Regions from separate parts of the Homo sapiens genome. Here regions 2 and 3 are each linked to region 1. The links are contacts of gene promoters, found by promoter capture Hi-C in blood cells and fetal thymus (Javierre and others, 2016). All regions are on one chromosome and are shown on one strand. The core of a region is centred on a gene start or on the middle of the fragment in contact, and the rest is flanking DNA. Distances in the headings are between cores, read along the strand shown.

Evidence for each region. Contacts are between HindIII fragments. The CHiCAGO score rates a contact against its expected background, and 5 or more counts as called.
Region 2: a contact is called between a fragment that was not itself captured here and the fragment with the promoter of CARTPT in region 1, in 1 of 17 cell types (endothelial precursors). The highest score is 6.5, in endothelial precursors.
Region 3: a fragment that was not itself captured here is called in contact with the fragment with the promoter of CARTPT in region 1 in 1 of 17 cell types (endothelial precursors); the score reaches 6.2 in endothelial precursors.

Annotation. Positions count from the first base shown.
Region 1 is chr5:71,717,935-71,720,689 of GRCh38, reverse strand. It overlaps CARTPT (CART prepropeptide), which reads right to left and starts at 1,415. Exons shown (of 3, transcript NM_004291.4): 1 at 1,238-1,415; 2 at 727-810; 3 at 1-182. The coding sequence starts at 1,396. The coding sequence ends at 75. RefSeq lists an enhancer at 391-1,277. The HindIII fragment of the contact is 2,457 bases long and covers 1-2,262 here.
Region 2 is chr5:71,629,286-71,632,040 of GRCh38, reverse strand. The region is part of intron 7 of MCCC2 (methylcrotonyl-CoA carboxylase subunit 2); the gene reads right to left. Among named protein-coding and RNA genes, the nearest start is that of MCCC2, 43 kb to the right of the region's middle. The HindIII fragment of the contact is 151 bases long and covers 1,175-1,325 here.
Region 3 is chr5:71,651,328-71,654,082 of GRCh38, reverse strand. It overlaps MCCC2 (methylcrotonyl-CoA carboxylase subunit 2), which reads right to left. Exons shown (of 17, transcript NM_022132.5): 16 at 1,329-1,414. Among named protein-coding and RNA genes, the nearest start is that of MCCC2, 65 kb to the right of the region's middle. The HindIII fragment of the contact is 812 bases long and covers 999-1,810 here.

The sequences.
Region 1 (2,755 bases), core at 166-2,665:
ACTCCAGGGAGGAAGGTGTGGTCCTCTGGGGAAAGTAGAGGGATGGGGATGTATGGAGGAGAATGGACGCCCCTTCATAAGCACTTCAGGAGGAAGGAATTGCAGGAGGTTCCTCGGGGACAGTCACACAGCTTCCCGATCCTTGCCCCTTTCCTCACTGCACACTGCTCACCGGCGTCACACTGAAACAACAAAATGTGTGGTCATCGAGTATGAACAAACCCAGGTTCCCAACAGGCAAGTCTCACAGTCAACGCAATTTCTGTCTCTTGAAAGGGGCAATTGGACCCCATCACCATCACAAGAGGTCTACGTACAGTCAGATCTGAAACAGGGAGCCTTGTGCTTATAACCTCAGTGAGAGTACATTTTTTAAAGAAACTTACATTATTAGTTTTATCCTAGTTTCTTCCACCTTTAAGTGGCGAGGGTTGGGGGGCGTGGGAAGGGGAGCATCACATTTCCTGGCTCCTTTTCTTGCCCTCTCAGAGGGGAAAAAAATCAGACCTTTTTCCTGAGCAACAAACAATAGACTTACACTTTCTTACAACCCCTGTTCCTGCTTTCCCATTTCCTCACCCGGGAAGGAAGAAGGAGCCCACAGAATCCTGCAAGCCCATTACCTAAGTTATTTAGCCACATCCTACGGAGAAGACTGTGTGTACGATTCAAGGCGGTGTACTTTCTCTTGGAAAAACACGGGAAGGGAGTGACCACAAACCTTACCATGGGGACTTGGCCATACTTCTTCTCATAGATGGGAACACGTTTACTCTTGAGCTTCTTCAAGACTTCTTGCAGCGCTTCGATCTGCAACACACCGCTTCGGAGCCTGAAGTTGCCGCCTTGGCTGCGAGCCCAGCCCAGGTGCGCACTTCCAGCCCTAGTTATAAGGAGCCCCGGACCCACACGCACTCTGCGGTGGGACTCCGCGGACACAGGGAATGGTCGAGGGGTGGAAACTTAGCGGACGCTGTCCCAGGTACTGACCGCGGGTCTCTGAGCCGCTGGGGTCCCTGTTGCTCAGAGGGGCCGGGATGAGGGATTCGCTCAACAGACTGCCAGGAGCCCGTGAGCTCGAGACGCTCTTCGGATGGCAGTGGGTGCCTGGGCGTTGCGCTCAGCTCCCCGCGCCCTGACTCTGGGAATAGGAGTGGGGGTGGGGGGAGGAGGGAGGCGTGCAAGAGAAGAGACAAGGCGACAGCTCAAGGGGGTCGAGAGCGAGGGGAATACCGACCAGCTCCTTCTCGTGGGAGGCATCATCCACGGCAGAGTAGATGTCCAGGGCTCGGGGCTGGAGCTCGGCGTCCTCCTGGGCACGGGTACCCAACAGAGGTAGCATCAGCAGCAGGGCGGCGCCCAGGAGGGGCAGCAGCCTCACGCGGGAGCTCTCCATCGTTCTGAAACTCGTCGTTGCTGGGGCACCACGCGCTCCCACCTTTTATAGTGAGCCCGAGCCCCCGTGCAGGAAAGAGGGAGGAGGCGAAGAAGGAAGGGGGTGTGGAGGAGGGCCCGGGTCAACCGTCTGTAGGCAGCGCTCCGCCGGCGCTTGACGTCAATGCCCGCCGGGTTCCAGGCGCCTGGGAACGAGGCTCTGCGCACAGATGGGCTAGAGCGCAGAGAACAGGACCCTGCGCCCCCAAAGGCTGTCAGTCTCACGGCAAGGGATGCTCCCCGAGGGGCCTGAGCTGAAGCCGAGGGGCTAGAGGTGAGGGACGGGAAGCGGGAGGGGCCTAGGAAATGGAAAATGCCTTCGGGTCAATGCACAGGCAGGAGAGTCGTTTCCCAACACCTAGCAGTGGTGACAGCTGCAACATCCACCTCGCCAGCCCTGCCTTGCCTCGCACCCCAACCCCAAGTGTGGCGGTGAGAAGGGGGTGTTGCCTCCAGACAGCCACATTTGCTGAGCACCTTACTCTGTGGGGTAGGGGAAGCAAACATACTATACAAAAGAAAGAGAAATAGTGGCCCTCCACGTGATGGGTTCTATGATGGAATCTGTGTGACAATAGTTAAAAGAAGAGAGGGAAAACAGACAAACCCGGATTCAGCAGTGGTGTTGGAAGTGCAGAGAGCCAGGCTCTGGTTCCCATCCTGGCTACACCACGTAAAAGTTGTATGACTTTGAACAAAATGAAGAACCTCTCCAAGCCTCAGCTTTCTCTTTTGTAGATCTAGGATTAAAAAGATATACCTCACAAAGTCATCAGTAGGATGAAATGAGAGATTAAGTATGTCAAACTCCTGGTTCTTAGCTAAGCTTCCCTGTCCCTCCTTTTTGAACTTTGAGGCTGCCCAGGCAAATTTAACCATCCCCAGAACCTCCCCCCACCCACCACCAACCCTTGGTATCCAAGAAGCCTGTCTAGAAAGAGAGTAAAAGAGTGAAAAGAAAGACAGCTCCATGATTATGAAAATATCTCCAGAGATCAGAAGTCAATGGTGAACCAGCTCCCCAACAACTTGGGAGAACAATGTGGCTTTTTTAAAAGTTGAGATCCTTACAGCCTGAATGCACAGGAAAATTCCTGTAGGAAAAGCAATGCTTTCCCGCTTAGACCTGCTTGCTCACCTGGCTTCCTTCACCACACCATCTTTCCCTCAACTGTTCCTAAATTCATCCACTCTTCTCCATCCCCATTACTACAACCCAGTCCTAGACAGCTGCCCCAGTCAACTTAATGTCTACCACTTAATCCCCACCCTATCTTCTCTTGCCTTCCTCTACTCCATAGTTCACCACCAACCAGAGTAT
Region 2 (2,755 bases), core at 1-2,500, 88 kb after region 1:
CCTGACTATACCTGTACTTTTTCTTCCATAGAACTAAAGAACACTGTGCTTTCTCATTCATGCACCTAGGAAACCTGGAGACTATTATCTTTACTCTTACAGGTGAAAAATCTAAGCCCAGAGTCACAAAGAACTTGCTTACAGTCCATAGCAAGCAATGGAGTCTCATTTGAGCCCACACGTTTCCAGCTTGAAAGACCTGGCCGGGCGCGGTGGCTCACGCCTGTAATCCCAGCACTTTGGGAGGCCGAGGCGGGTGGATCATGAGGTCAGGAGATCGAGACCATGCTGGCTAACAAGGTGAAACCCCGTCTCTACTAAAAATACAAAAAATTAGCTGGGCGCGGTGGCGGGCGCCTGTAGTCCCAGCTACTCGGGAGGCTGAGGCAGGAGAATGGCGTGAACCCGGGAAGCGGAGCTTGCAGTGAGCCGAGATTGCGCCACTGCAGTCCGGCCTGGGCGACAGAGCGAGACTCCGTCTCAAAAAAAAAAAAAAAAAAAAGAAGAAAGACCTGAAAGGCCATCCTCTTTCCCTATGTCATGCTGCCCTGACACATGTGGTCAAGACTTTGTGTCTGTGTGTGTGTTCCTCCCACTGCCTGGGATCTCTTCTTCTCACCTACCTGACGAATTCCCACTTACCCTTCAAGTCCCACCTCAAGTTGCCTCCTCTACACAGCTTTCCTGACCCGCCCAGGCCTTCTCCATGGTATTAATAGAGGACTGCCTGCCTATCCACGGTCCAAGGGCATTGCACTTACACCTCCAACACGGCATGTGTCAGAATGTAGTTCAGTAATGTGCATGTTATGTCTGTCATCTCCTCTATGCTGTGAATTCCTTGGTGGCAGGAACTGTGATTTATTCATCTTTGAATACTCAATAACATGCTGAAAAATTCCATTTACTATCACAAACTCTGCATAGGAAAGAGAGGTAGGAAAAAAATCTCCAAGATTACCTAAACCTAAGATCTAGCAGAATGTGGCCAAAAAGAAACAAACTCCAGTAATAAATTAAGAATAACTTAATTATAGCCAGAGAAATTCTACCAGGAAAAAGAAAGAAAAATAATTTAAGGCTAAATGCCAATCCAACCCCTTAGGAATTATTTATTGATTCCTATTTCTTTGAAGAAAAAGAAACAAATTAATCAACTCAAATAAGAAAAGCTTTTATTAGAATAATGAACATTAATCTAAAATATAGCACAGAGAGGTTGAAGGTAAAGAAAAAGTCTTTCTTGAGGGGAGCCCTGAAACAAAAAGAAAAAAGAAAAGAAAATACAGCATAGAAACAACTTATTACTCTCTACATCAAAAGCTTTGTCTTAAATATCCTTCTGCAGAGAGAGTTAGTTAAAATTTTCACCTCCAATTATTCCACCCCCAGAACTAAATTCTTGGTTCTTTTCCTTCCAAAACATTTAGTGTAAAATAACATTCAGTCCAGACAATAACAAATTATAAGAGGTGTCTGGATATTTAAAGTTGCAAAAAGGAATAAACAACAGATAAATTATATTTATTTTCAGGGATCTGACTAATATCAACCAAAAAAAAAAATAAGAATTTGTCATCAGTTAATATTTATTGAACACCCACAACGTTTGATAGTGTGATAGGTGCAAAGATGATAGAAGTCAAAGAGAAAATTAAAACAGCTCATTTGACTAAATGACAAGTTCAAAAGATAAACAAAAGACAGGAGAACAAAAAGCGCCTTCAAAAACTTGTCTTACTATCTGTTTTTTTCAACTACTCTAAGCTACTAAAAGCTACAGCACTACACCCCACACTACGTGCAAACCCTTCAAAGCCCTTTCTCAACATTCGGTCAAGCGTGCGTCAGAATTTAGAATTCTCTAAAGGATGAGGCTGCTGCTACTGCCTTTTTCTCCCTGTGAACATGGTCTTTCAAAGGTGGATTGCTGGATGGGGTCCAGTTCTCCAACAGAACTTCAGGCTTCCCTGGCTGCCAAGTGGCTTCTTTATAAGGTACAAGTTAACTGAATGGACATTGTAACTACTGACCCTTAGACAAAATCTTCTCTCTAAAACCCTTCGCATTATTCCACTATTATGATCTGCCTGTATTTCCAAAAAGATGTTTTCAAATTGTAGTCATATCTTTACTCATTTTCTAGTCAAAAAATAAACAAGAATGGCCCATGAAAGTTTGTACCTTTTACTATACAAAGGTAAATTTTGAGTGCATTTTCCTCTCATTAACAAATGACAGCTATCACATACAAGAGATAAATTAAAATAATAATAGTAATAATAATAATAATAATAATAATAATGGCTGCAGGCTTTTAAAATAATGCCTTAAGACTTTTACATTTGAAATGGCAGCCCTTCAGGCCTACCTGATCTTCAGTAAAAGTTATTAAAAATTAACACCCTCTTTTGGGAAATATACTTATTTTACATCAAAACATAAGCTCTATTTAACATATTCTTTCTAATGAATTTGTATTAGTATTCCATAACCAAAGATGATTCTTGGACAAATTTTTGAAGCAACAAACTTTTTGGAATAGAATTCACATACCATAAAATTCACTATTTTAAAGCATACAATTCAGTGGCTTTTAGTACATTCACAAAGTGCACAAAGTGTGCAACCATCACCACTACCCAATTCCAGAAAATTTCATCACTCCCAGAAGAAACCCCATCCTCATTAGCGGTCACTCCCATTCCACCCTCCTCCTAGTCCCTGGCAACAACTAATCTACTTTCTGCCTCCA
Region 3 (2,755 bases), core at 155-2,654, 67 kb after region 1:
GAGATTGCAGTGAGCTGAGATCACGTCACTGCACTCCAAACTGGGCAACAGAGTGAGACTCTGTCTTTAAAGAAAACAAAAACAAAAACACATACACACACCCAAATGGTATTATTTATCTCCTCAAACTAATTATGTTCTTGAAAATCAGTATGTTTTGTCTTTGTATCCACCAAGGAACCATTCAAATGATTGTAATGGACTCTAACTTTTGCTTTTTTTTTTTTTTTTTGAGATAGGGCCTTGTTCTGTCACCCAGGTTGGAGCACAGTGGCATGATCTCGGCTCACTGCAGCCTTGACCTCCCAGGTTCAACTGATCTGCTTGCCTCAGCCTTCTGAGTAGCTGGGACTACAGGTGCACACCATCACGCCTGGCTAATTTTTGTATATTTTTTGTAGAGACTGGGTCTCACCATGTTGCCCCGCTAGTTTCGAACTCCTGGGCTCAAGCAATCTGCCCGCCCTGGCCTCTCAAAATGCTGGGATTATAAGTGTGAGCCACTGTGCCTGGCCTGATTTTCTTTTCTCTCCCCTCTCCTCTCCAGTTTGCCTTCGCCAGCATAAATTACAACATAAGCTAATTTTACAAGATGCAGAAAGAGTTACTTTCTTTTTTCCATCTGCCCAAGGGATGAAAGGAAGACATGAAGCTTAGATTAGTCTTCGGAATGCAGAACACTAAAGTTGTTGAAGAAAGATGTGAAAGCAGGCACCAGCAGGTCTTCAGCTGGGACAGGCATGATAATTTATTACCTCATTAAGTGGTGTAAGAAAAAAACCGAGCCAACAGCGGCAATGGTCTGTGAGGTAATTATTTGGCGCCGACACACAGACCCTGGCAGTGACTAATCACCTTTCAAACGTACAAGCATACTTGTCAACAAATGCCAGTAAGTGTTCAACCAATCTCATGTTTAAAATGGGGTAAAAACAAAATGATCAAGGAGAGGGGTTTTTAAGCAAAAATTAGAACTTCTGAAGTAACACAGCCAAGCTTATAACTTATTCTCGGCTCCTAACATGGCCCACCTTGGGCTGCAGGACCCCTCCAGGCCCCAGACACCTCAACTAGGGGGAAGACAAGGGAAGCGAGAATCAGACCACTGGTGGTGAGTCCACAGTGCAGGGATGCTGGGAGGAGGGGTGGCATTTCAGCAGTAGCCATTCAGATTGTAAAGAAACAACAGTACAAAATTAAGTGTGTCCAAATGTTATTTTCCAGTTCCTATGAATGCTGGACCATCTCAACTACACAGAGCTCTGTAAAGCTGTTCCTCTGACTGCCATCTGCACCCATCAGAGAGTTAGTGATGTTCTGGCCCCCACCTTGCGCTGGAATAGTAAGGGTTTCCTTCCTCTTCAAACTTCTTAATGATGGGCTCTTTTAAAGCCGCTTCATCAGCACTGGAGAACTAAAGGAAAAGAGGCCATGAGTAAGTCAGCTTCAGTGAACAACTGGCCCTGTTTAGATCATCTCAATTCAAAAGAAACAACAGATGTCATGAATAATAATGTTACATCTAACATGTGCATAGTGATGTATAAATTACAAGTGATCATTAACATACACGCTAAGACATGAGTATCAAGTTAGTGCCCCATCCCATCTCTCCTAACAGAGACAATATCCTGAGGCTATTTCACGTAAGGTGAAAGCCCAGGGTACTGTGTATCACAGCAAGGTACAATAATAGATGTGAATTATACAACCCAACAAAAGGGCTGCATTACACTTAGCAACCTCCAGTTAAGAATGTGGAAAAGTATGAGATTCTCATTTAAAATAGCCAAAATTTAAAACTTAAGCTTAAATGTTTAAGCTTAAAGGGGTAAAATACCAACCAAATCTTGAATAACCTTTTCAGTCAAGTTCCCAGAGAACTGAGAGATATTTTCCCCTAATTAAGAATTTCACAGCCTTCCCATCAGTATTACAAGGATCAAGTGATAATTAATTCAGATGTAAAAATCTTCAGAACTTAATTTGAAACCCTGAAAAATACTTTCAACTCAAAAAGCAACTCGACAGCAGAAACAAAGACTTATTTCAAATAAACTCTACCTTCTTTTACGTAAATATGCTAATACCTTAATATCATTTTCTAGGTCACGAATTCTGAGGGAGAACCATTAACACACTGTGCTTTCCTTTCCTGTATAAAAATGAATGAATTCAAGTATCTGTATATTGAAGTAATCAAAGAACAACTACTTAATAAGAGATCACCATGCTAGGCTTCATAGAGTTTCAGACATGTCTTTGAAGTATCAGGTAGAATTTCATATCTCACCTCCCCCACCCACACACCCACACCCCAACCACTCGCACAAAAGCAAAGCTATCTGTTTCCTTTGATACTAGTAGGTACTAAAGTGAATCTGAAACCTCAATGTAAGTCTCCAGAGTTCCGAGTGCTTGGAAAAGACAACTAGGGATGTGAGGCATGGATGGATGCATTCAGGGAGGCAGTACCTCACTCCACAATCTAGGTGGAAGACCTGATGATTCCTGCACAGAGCAGACAGGGCTCCCTCCATTCCATCCCTTCCCATAATGAGACAACAGTGTACCTAAGCAACTTCAGGAACACACAACCATCATCTTCATACTTGGTGCTTACACAGGAGTTAAAAGTTGTAACTAATAAAAATTAATGCAAAATTTCAAACAATCTCCAACAGAGACACAAACAAAAGAATTCATTTTAAAAGCAGCCGCTTGCTGATCTGCCTTTCATCAAGTTTCCACTGCC